2 separate regions of the Homo sapiens genome follow, and region 2 is linked to region 1. The links are contacts of gene promoters, found by promoter capture Hi-C in human tissues and cell types (Jung and others, 2019). All regions are on one chromosome and are shown on one strand. Each heading gives the region's core, a stretch centred on a gene start or on the middle of the fragment in contact. The rest is flanking DNA. Distances are from core to core; before and after follow the strand shown. Region 1 holds the start of TMEM132A (transmembrane protein 132A). Region 2 holds the start of PGA3 (pepsinogen A3).

Region 1 (4,583 bases), core at 181-2,680:
GCCTCCTTGTCTGCACAACTGCATGCACTTCTCTCCCCATCGCTCCACAACCTGAAACCGAGAAGGAGTTGCTGACCAGTGCCCACCCCGGCAGCCCGGGAGGAACACAGGCAGCTCCTTTCCCTTCACGTGGTCTGCAGAGAGCAGGGTGAGCTGCCAGCTGCCCCTCTCCACCAGGGTACCCTGTCTTGGTGGTTAGGGGCCACTTTTCCTTTGAGGCTCTAGTGGAGGTGGATGTCCTTCTCTGCCAGGCTTGGCACATGATGTGAAGAATAAATGCCCAATTCTTACTGTTCAGGTTTGATGTGGAATCACAGCTGCAGTGATATATATTTTTTATCAGTGCTTGGTTGGTTTTAAATAAAGTGCACGCTATTTTATTATCTTGTTCTGAATAAAATGTATTTACTCCAAGTCTGGATTGCTTCCATGTCTCCTCTACTGCTAAACCCATTTCTGTAGTGCAGCTCCGCCTCCCAATTTCTCCCTGTGGGGGCAGTGTGAAGCTGGCAGAGGGGAGAGCTGAAAAGGCAGGCTGGTACCAGGTACCCTTCCCTCCAGGAGCACAAGGAATTAGGAAAGCATGCCCCCATTACAAAACGTAGGAACGACTGGCACTGCTGGAAATGCGTGTGCTTGCTGGGCAGAGGGGTCACCCCTTCCCTGCAGTGTGCTGAGGTGGGTGGGCAGCCTGGAGAAGACTTGCCTGCCCTCCCCTTCACCACCCACCTGAGGACTTTCCTGTGCCAAGGTTTCCAGTCGGCCCACAGGCTGGACCAATTTTGCGGAGGGCCTCAGACATAATTTTTTCTTTGTAAGCTGCCCAGGGCATGAGAGTGTGCAGCTGGGGCCCCTGCTCTGGGCCTCTCCCCAAACTGCCTGGTAGGCAACACTGGGTCAGGACCCTTGAGGCTGGCCTTCCCTCGGGAGTGTTGGGCAACCCTCAACCCTCCTAAGCGCTGCAGGACGCTGCCCAGGTGGAGCTGGTCAAGAGACTAGAGCTGCCTGCACCTAGAGCCCTTCCTCCACGGCGGTGGCCTAGCTCTGTCAGGGCAGGCTCAGGTGGTTGGCATCTGGCCCCGTTTGACCCCCTCCCTCCTTTCCTGTCCCTGCAGCTCCCGTCCCATGTGTCCCTGAATTCTGGTTCTGACTCAGGTGTCAGATGCCTTCACAAGTGAGCTGCTTGTGGGGGTGGGTGAGGCAGAGAAAGTGGCTTTTTCTTCCCTGATCAGAAGCTTCCGTGAGGGAGCCACACAGAACTCACCGAGTCCCTCCTGGCAGAGGCGGCCGTCCTCTGTTGCTTCCAGGGACGTGGCCCTCTTCCCGACCTCGGTCGCCTGAGCGCGCAGGGATTGGGGATCCGTAGGGCACTAGGACCCGGCGGGGCGGAGGGGGCAGCCCATGTGCTGCGATTCGCTCCCTCCCACCCCACTGCTCCCGCTCCATTGTCTGGGAATTGCAGCCGCGGGGCGGGCGGCGGCGGCGGCGGCGGCGGCCGGGACCCAGCGGGCCAGGTGGGGACGGCGCGGAGCGGGTGCGGGAGATGCCGTGCGGGACTGGGGCCACCTGAGCCGCCCGCCTCGTCCCCGCCTTCTGTGGGAAGGATGTGCGCGCGGATGGCCGGTCGCACAACAGCGGCCCCTCGGGGGCCCTACGGCCCCTGGCTCTGCCTCCTGGTGGCCCTCGCCCTGGACGTCGTGAGAGGTCAGCGGGAGGGGAGGGCCGGGGCGAGGGGCGGCCGGGCCCGGCCGAGTGGGAGCGAGTGATGCCCGGGAGCCACCAACCTTTGGGTTCTCGGACTGAACCCTGAGCGGGGTCGCCCCGCAGCGCCCTGAAGGTCGGAGAGTTCTTGCCCTCGGGAACCTGCCCCCAGCCACTCGCCCCTAAGGCTTCCTTCACCTTGCACGACCCGGCAACTCCTTCCTGACCCGGGGCAGCCCGGCGCAGGGGCTTCCCCGTCCCGCACCTTCTGCGAGGGACCCCTCAGCCCGGGCATCGAACCCGGCGGCCCCGGTCCCGGGCGCACTAGCGTCATCCCCACTCCCTCACTGTGGTCTGTAGCGCTGCACCCTCCTAGCCTCCTTCCGCCGCCACCAACCCACCCCCCTCGGGAGTGGAAAGCAGCCCCTTTGCCTGGGACCTGCAACAGACGCAAGCCCTCCCTCCCCCTTCCCCCAGGGCTCCCTGACCTTGGCGTCTCCAGGGATGGCCGCATCCTTGCCTTCCAGAACCTTTGAGAGGATTCCTGTCACTGCGGGAAAGGGCAGCAACTTCCCTGTGCTTCGGGGTGGGGGTCGGACTCCCTTGGCCTGGGCTAGCTGGGCTGTGGCTGCAAGGCAAAGGATGCCACAGAAGACAGAGGGACAGTGAAACATTCTCTGCCCTCCCCACCGAGAGAGCCGAGCGCTGGGTGATGGGAGTCCGTGGGAGTCAGGCTAAGAGCATCTTGTAATTATGGAGGCAATGGAGTAGGAGGCGAACCTGAAGCCAGTGGCTGCCCCCAGAGAGCAGTGGTCACTTGTTACGCTTGGGGCAGGGGGCAGGGAGAGCCTGTCAGTCATATGCTCCTTGGTGGGGAGGGCCAGGAAGGAGGTTGAAACCAATTCCCCCACCCCCACCCACAGTCCAGCTGTGGGGCTGAGAGGGAGCTAGCTGTGGGGTTGCTTTCAGCCACCTGCTCCCCATCCCGAGGGACGCCATGGGAGTCCTAATAGAGAGAGGAGGAAAACCTTGTCAAATCCATTATGCAGCAGCAATAATGCCTGCTCCCTCCAGACAGCACTCCACAGTTTACACAGCCCTGTCCTGTCCACAGTGCCACCTAATGCTCCTGCCCCTTTTACAAGTGAGGAAACAGGCTTCAAAATGTTAATGCCTGACCCAAGTTTCATCAATTTAAATTCAGGTCTCCAGGCTCCCAGGAAATCCTCTCTAGGGAGCGCTTCCTAGTTTGGGGGAATTCCAGGATGAGCAAGACAGGGTCCCTTGTTTATAGGAAGATTACTAATTCAGAGGAGGCACCCAGGGTTGCAAAAGACAGGAGACTGGTGGGAAGGTGAGTAACCAAGGAGGGCTTCCTTCAGAAGGAGGCAGTATTCACTCATGGCCCTGAATGAGGAGGGAGGTGCCACCGGGCAGAGCAGAGGAGAGGAGGTGCGCTCCAGGGCATGAAGCCTGCAGGGTGCACCGTGGCAGTGGAGAGTGGAGAGAGAAGTGGCAGGTGGAGACGCCGGATGGTCTAGTGGCTAATACCTGGGATCAACCCCCAGCTCCTTCACTCTCCAGCTGTGGAACCACAGGCAAATACCTTAACCTCTCGGCCTCATTTTCTACATCCACAAAATGGGATTCATCATAATAGAACCTGGTTCACAGAATTATTACAAAGACTCAAAGAGTTCATATACATACAGTATTTAAATTCTCACCTGCATATAGCATTCACAAAATGCTAATTATTATTATTAGTGCTCATAGTTAGAGCAAACCAATATGGCTTAGTGCTCCTTTGTCCTTCTGATGATTGACTATTTTGACTGTCTTCCCCAGGCTCCTGGTCCCCACCCCACCCCCAGGGCAAGCAAGTGCCTTCACAGACCTCTTCAGCACCTTCCGCGCCCGCCCATCCCACACTTGCACTCGATACCAGTCGGTTCAGGGAAGAAGGGAGCAAGCTTGGAAAGATGGTGCAGGTTGCCATGGCAATGATGGGGGAGGAGGGGTGGATGCCCAGCAGAGCCTGGCCAAGGATTCAGGGCAGAGAAAGCTCACTTCATTACCATATTTTACTACACTGGCCCAGTCTGCCGACGGTTGCACCCCAGAAGTGCCTTGGTATCAGAGGCGAGTAGATGGAGGGCAGGAGTTGGGGAAAAGGAGACATTGAGAAGGCTGTTGGCGAGAAGAAGGCCAAGGTCTGTGGAAAGTAGAAGGAATAGCTGGGAAGCATCCAGTCCTGGACTCAGATTCGAATCCTGGCTTTGCTACATACTACCTGTGTGAGGCTCTTTAAGCCTCAGTGACCTCATCTGTGAAATGGTGGTGAGAGGGGAAGGGACATTTACAGCCCTTTTCTCCCTCCCTTGCCCACAACTACTGTGCCCCAGCATGGCACCCGGGTCAGCCCCTGCCAGCTCTGGAGCTGTCATCATCTCTCCCTCTTATGCCTCTTCAGTGGACTGTGGCCAGGCTCCCCTGGACCCTGTCTACCTGCCGGCAGCCCTGGAGCTCCTAGACGCCCCTGAACACTTCCGTGTGCAGCAGGTGGGCCACTACCCACCTGCCAACTCCTCTCTGAGCTCCCGATCTGAGACCTTTCTGCTCCTACAGCCCTGGCCCAGGGCCCAGCCACTTCTCCGGGCCTCCTACCCACCTTTTGCCACTCAGCAGGTAAGGAGGGGGCACCGGGGACTCTCAGGCTAACAGGACTCAGGGCCTGAGGTCTGCTGGGTACAAATTGGGAGCCTTCCCCAGCCCCGGCTGTGCTCCCCATATTCCAGAGGGGGAAACTGAGGCCCATAAAGGTTCTCTTCTGCCAAGCTGGGATCCCATCTTCCTAGATCTTCCCCTCCCAAGCTCCTCTT
Region 2 (4,449 bases), core at 1,734-4,233, 280 kb after region 1:
CCCTTGGGCCTCTTTATAGGGCAGCTTTCTTTATCAGAGCCAGCAAGAGGAAGAGTCTATACAGACAGTGTGCTAGCAAGACACAAGCTACAAGCCTGTATAATGTCATCGCAAAAGCAACATCCCATCTACTTTGCTGTATCCTGTTGGCTAGAAGCAAGTCCTGCCTACACAAAAGGGGAGGGGATTACGCAGGGATGTGAACACCAGCAGCATGAATAATTGGGGGCCATCCTACAGTCTCTCTGCCATACCCCTGAATTGGTGTCAGCAAGCATGCCAGCGTCCCTCAGGGTGCTAAAATCTCTAATGTGGAGAAACATTATCATCTTCACCAATCTGAGAGCTTCCCCTCAATGTGATCCAAATATCCATCCAGGTGGAAAGGAAGAGCCCCTTCCACACCAGCTTTCCCTTCAACTGACCACAAATGCGCCAAAGGCACGGCCTAGTCCTACCATGCTCAGGGATGTACCCTCTGCAGCTAGAGCATCCCTGCACGGTACACAGCAAGTGCACAATAAGGCATTTGAATGAATGTGTAAAGGGGCTTGCAGGTTTCTGCCTGGGGAATCTTCCTTCTGCTTCCCAAATATACTTCTCTGCTCAAAATTCCCATGTGGGCCCCAGACAAACTGTGCCCCCAAAATCAGTGCCCATCCTTGGGCTCCAAGCTCCCTCCCTTCCATCTGGTGGCAGCCTTGAGTGAGGGGATTCCATCTGGTGCCCCCAGAACTTAGGCAGCATCTTCAGGACCATCAGGTTCTTCACATGAGTGCTAGGATCAACCCATACTTAGGTGATGGATACTCCAAATACCCTGACTTCATCATTACTCTTTCTATGCCTGTAACAGAATATCACATGTACCCAAAAAAAATATGTAAAATATTATGTATCCATAAAGAGAGAGAGGGCCAGGTGCAGTGTGGTTCACTGTAATCCCAGCACTTTGAGAAGCTGAGGCAGGAAGATCGCTTGAGCCCAGGAGTTCGAAACCAGCCTGGGCCACATAGTGAAGCCCTGTCTCTACAGAAAATACAAAAGTTAGCTCGGTGTAGTGGCTCATGCCTTTCATCCCAGCTACTCAGAGCCTGAGGCCAGAGGACTAATTGAGCGTGGGAGGCTGAGGCTGCAGTAAGCCATGATCACCCCACTACGCTCTACCCTGAGTGACAGAATAAGACCCTGTCTCATAAAACAGAGAGAGAGGCTTGAGAGGGAGGAAAGAAAGAGGAAGAGAAGGAGGCACCAGAAGACATGAACGTGGAAAATACAAGGGCTAGTCATACTGGAGTGAGATTCACAGTTAAAAAAAAAGAAAAGAAAACAAAAGAAAATGGGCCCAGGATTCACATTTGGGGCACAAAGATGTCAACTAACAGGGGAGTCTGTAATGTCAATGTGTTTTCTACCAACCACCACTGTCCCTGAACTAATCCACACTGCCCACTCCTCAATACTCACCTGGAGGCACTGGGGGCAACTTGGAGCTTTTATAGAACCTGTGGCTCTCATGGCTGGACAGTCTGAGGATGCCCCAGGGGATCCGATTTCAGAACAAGACCCTGAGACAGGGCTTCCTATCTACCTGGTGACCTCCCCGCTCCCCTGTCCTCCTCCCCAGCAATTTATGCATCAGGGTTTTCACTCTACTTTGTCCACTGAATAAAATCTCACAATCCATTGGGTTGGTAAGCATCCTCTTTCTTTTTTCTTTTTTTTTTTTTTGTTTGTTTGTTTGTTTGTTTGAGATGGAGTCTAGCTCTGTTGCCCAGGCTGGAGTGCAGTGGCGCGATCACGGATTATTGCAACTGTGTCCCAAATTGGTTCCTTCCCGGTGGGTTCTTGGTCTCGCTGACTTCAAGAATGAAGCCGCCGACCCTCACGGTGAGTGTTACAGTTCTTCAAGATGGTGTGTCTGGAGTTTGTTCCTTCAGATGTTCAGATGTGTCCAGAGTTTCTCCCAGTTGGTTTGTGGTCTCGCTGGCTTCAGGAGTGAAGCTGCAGACCTTCGCGGTGAGTGTAACAGCTCTTAAAGGTGGCGCGTCCAGAGTTGTTTATTCCTCCCGGTGGGTTCGTGATCTCGCTGGCTTCCGGAATGAAACTGCAGACCTTCGCGGTGAGTGTTACAGCTCATAACAGTAGTGCAGACCCAAGGAGTGAGTAGCAGCAAGATTTATTGTGAAGAGCGAAAGAACAAAGCTTCCACAGCCTGGAAGATGTCCCGAGCAGGTTGCCACTGTTGGCTCCAGTGGCTTGCTTTTAGTCCCTTATTTGGCGCCACACACATCCTGCTGATTGGTCCATTTTACAGAGAACTGATTGGTGCATTTACAATCCTTTAGCTACACACAAAAGTTCTCCAATTCCCCACCTGATTCTCTAGACACAGAATGCTGATTGGTGCATTTACAAGCCTTCAGCTAGACACAGTGCTGCTTGGTGCATTTACAATCCTTTAGCCAGACACAAAAGTTCTCCAAGTCCCCACCCCATTAGCTAGACACAGAGTGCTGACTGGTGTGTTTACAAACCTTTGGCTAGACACAGAGTGCTGATTGGTGAATTTACAATCCTTTAGCTAAACACAAAAGTTCTCCAAGTCCCCACCCGACTCAGAAGCCCAGAGGGCTTCACCTCTCACAACCTCTGCCTCCCAGGTTCAAGCGATTCTCCTGCCTCAGCCTCCCCAGTAGCTGGGATTACAGGCGCCCACCACCATGCCCAGCTAACTTTTCTACTTTTAGTAGAGACGGGGTTTCACTATGTTGGCCAGGCTGGTCTTGAACTCCTAACCTCAGGTGATTCACCTGCCTCACCCTCCCAAAGTACTGGGATTACAAGCGTGAGCCACGGCGCCCGGCCAAGCATCCTCTTTCTAAGTCACTCACCCATGAGTATGAATTGTTTGCCCAGATTGCTTCACTCCATTGTAGCTGATTTCAACCCAGTTGTAAGCCTGGAGCACCTGGAGAAATCAGACCCAGGTGGGATCTCAAAGGTGGAGAGGGTGGGAAAGGAGCAAAAGAAAGAGAAGGGGTGCAGAAAGGGAGGGACACAGATTCCAAAGACATACCTGGCCTGTCTGAAGTTTGCCTCCTCCAGGAAGGGAAGGCAGCATTCTCCCGGTGCTGTCTCCCTCCTCCCCCGTGTACTGTGCACATCTCCTTCCCAGACTCAGCCCAGTTGCACCAAAAGCAAGCCACAAGGCCCATAGGCTAGTCAGACGCCCAACAACCCCACACAATGACACTTATGTGGGGAATTGTGTCCTGAGACCCAAACGACTGACCCCCCAATGTGCTGTGAATAAGCAGTGACCACAACCAGTACCACCTATGACTGAGTCGGGGGCTGCTCTCTAAGAACCCCAGCTGCATGCCCTCTGGGACAAATCAGGCCACCTGGGGCTCCTTCACATCTCTCCAATGCTGTGTTAAACGCACTTTTAACCAACTTTGTCAAAATGCTCAGCTGGTAAAGTTTTAACGTAGGCCCTTGTCAATGCTTCAGAAATAAGCCTCTGGCGGCGCGACAGAGCAAAACTCCGTCAGGAAAGTAAGGAAAGAAAGGAAAGGAAGGAAGGAGGGAAGGAAGGAAGGAAAGAGAGAAAGAGAAAGAAGGAAAGAAAGGAAAGAAAAGAAAGGAAACAAAGGAAAAGAAAACAAATAAGCTTCCAGGTCATTGCTTAGAAAGAAAAAGAAAGAAAAAAAAAGAAAAGAAAAAAGAAAGAAAAAAGCCTCCCGGTCATTGCTCCTCTCTCTCTCTGCGGGTCCATCCCCATGGCACCCTCCCCCCTCCCCATGGTGCAAAGTTATAGTGGAAAGTGCCTCAGCTGGAAAGATCTCAGAATGTGGCTTAGGGCAGCCACAATCTTATCAGGAGCTTCTCTGTTTGGGATCAGGGGAACCGGTGACTTTCAGAGGCCGATAAGGCGGGACCCAACTTGTATATAAGGGGCAGCTCATGCTGCTGCTCTGCACCTTCCTCCCGTCTTGCCTTCTCCCTCGAGTTGGGACCCGGGAAGAACCATGAAGTGGCTGCTGCTGCTGGGTCTGGTGGCACTCTCTGAGTGCATCATGTACAAGTGAGTCCGGGTGGTGTGGGTGTGAAGACGCTGCCTCCCACATCACCTTTCTTTCCTCCCGTGTCTTCCTTCTTCCCTTTTTTCTCCCTCTCTATTCAGCTGTCTCCATCCCCCTTTTCCGCCTCTCTCTCTGCCTTTTTGGGAGGCAGCCCTGCAGACATGGTTAAAACTCGGGCCCAGCCTGACTGTGGTTCCCAGCTCCAGCCCTAGTCAGCTTAACTTCTTTGCATTATGGGGCAGAAGTGGGAGCTTCTCCCTTCCTTCCATCTTCCTCTCTTAGATCAGCTGGTTAAGAGTCCAGCCTGGGTTTGGCTCCCAGCTCCAGCACTAGTCAACTTAACTTCTTTGCATTGTTGGGC

What was found. Contacts are between HindIII fragments. The study calls those that stand out against the background at their distance.
Region 2: a fragment that was not itself captured here is called in contact with the fragment with the promoter of TMEM132A in region 1 in 2 of the 25 tissues and cell types used here (H1 embryonic stem cells and spleen).

What each region holds. Positions count from the first base shown.
Region 1 is chr11:60,923,030-60,927,612 of GRCh38, forward strand. It overlaps TMEM132A (transmembrane protein 132A), which reads left to right and starts at 1,431. Exons shown (of 11, transcript NM_178031.3): 1 at 1,431-1,704; 2 at 4,175-4,389. The coding sequence starts at 1,605. It overlaps TMEM109 (transmembrane protein 109), which reads left to right. Exons shown (of 4, transcript NM_024092.3): 4 at 1-414. LOC124902676 (a long non-coding RNA gene) reads right to left here and starts at 2,368. Exons shown (of 2, transcript XR_007062688.1): 1 at 2,190-2,368. RefSeq lists silencers at 1,327-1,686, 1,747-1,966, 2,007-2,076. The HindIII fragment of the contact is 5,282 bases long and covers 66-4,583 here.
Region 2 is chr11:61,199,531-61,203,979 of GRCh38, forward strand. PGA3 (pepsinogen A3) reads left to right here and starts at 3,985. Exons shown (of 9, transcript NM_001079807.4): 1 at 3,985-4,090. The coding sequence starts at 4,035. LOC124902678 (a long non-coding RNA gene) reads left to right here. Exons shown (of 4, transcript XR_007062691.1): 4 at 1-1,340. The HindIII fragment of the contact is 5,848 bases long and covers 60-4,449 here.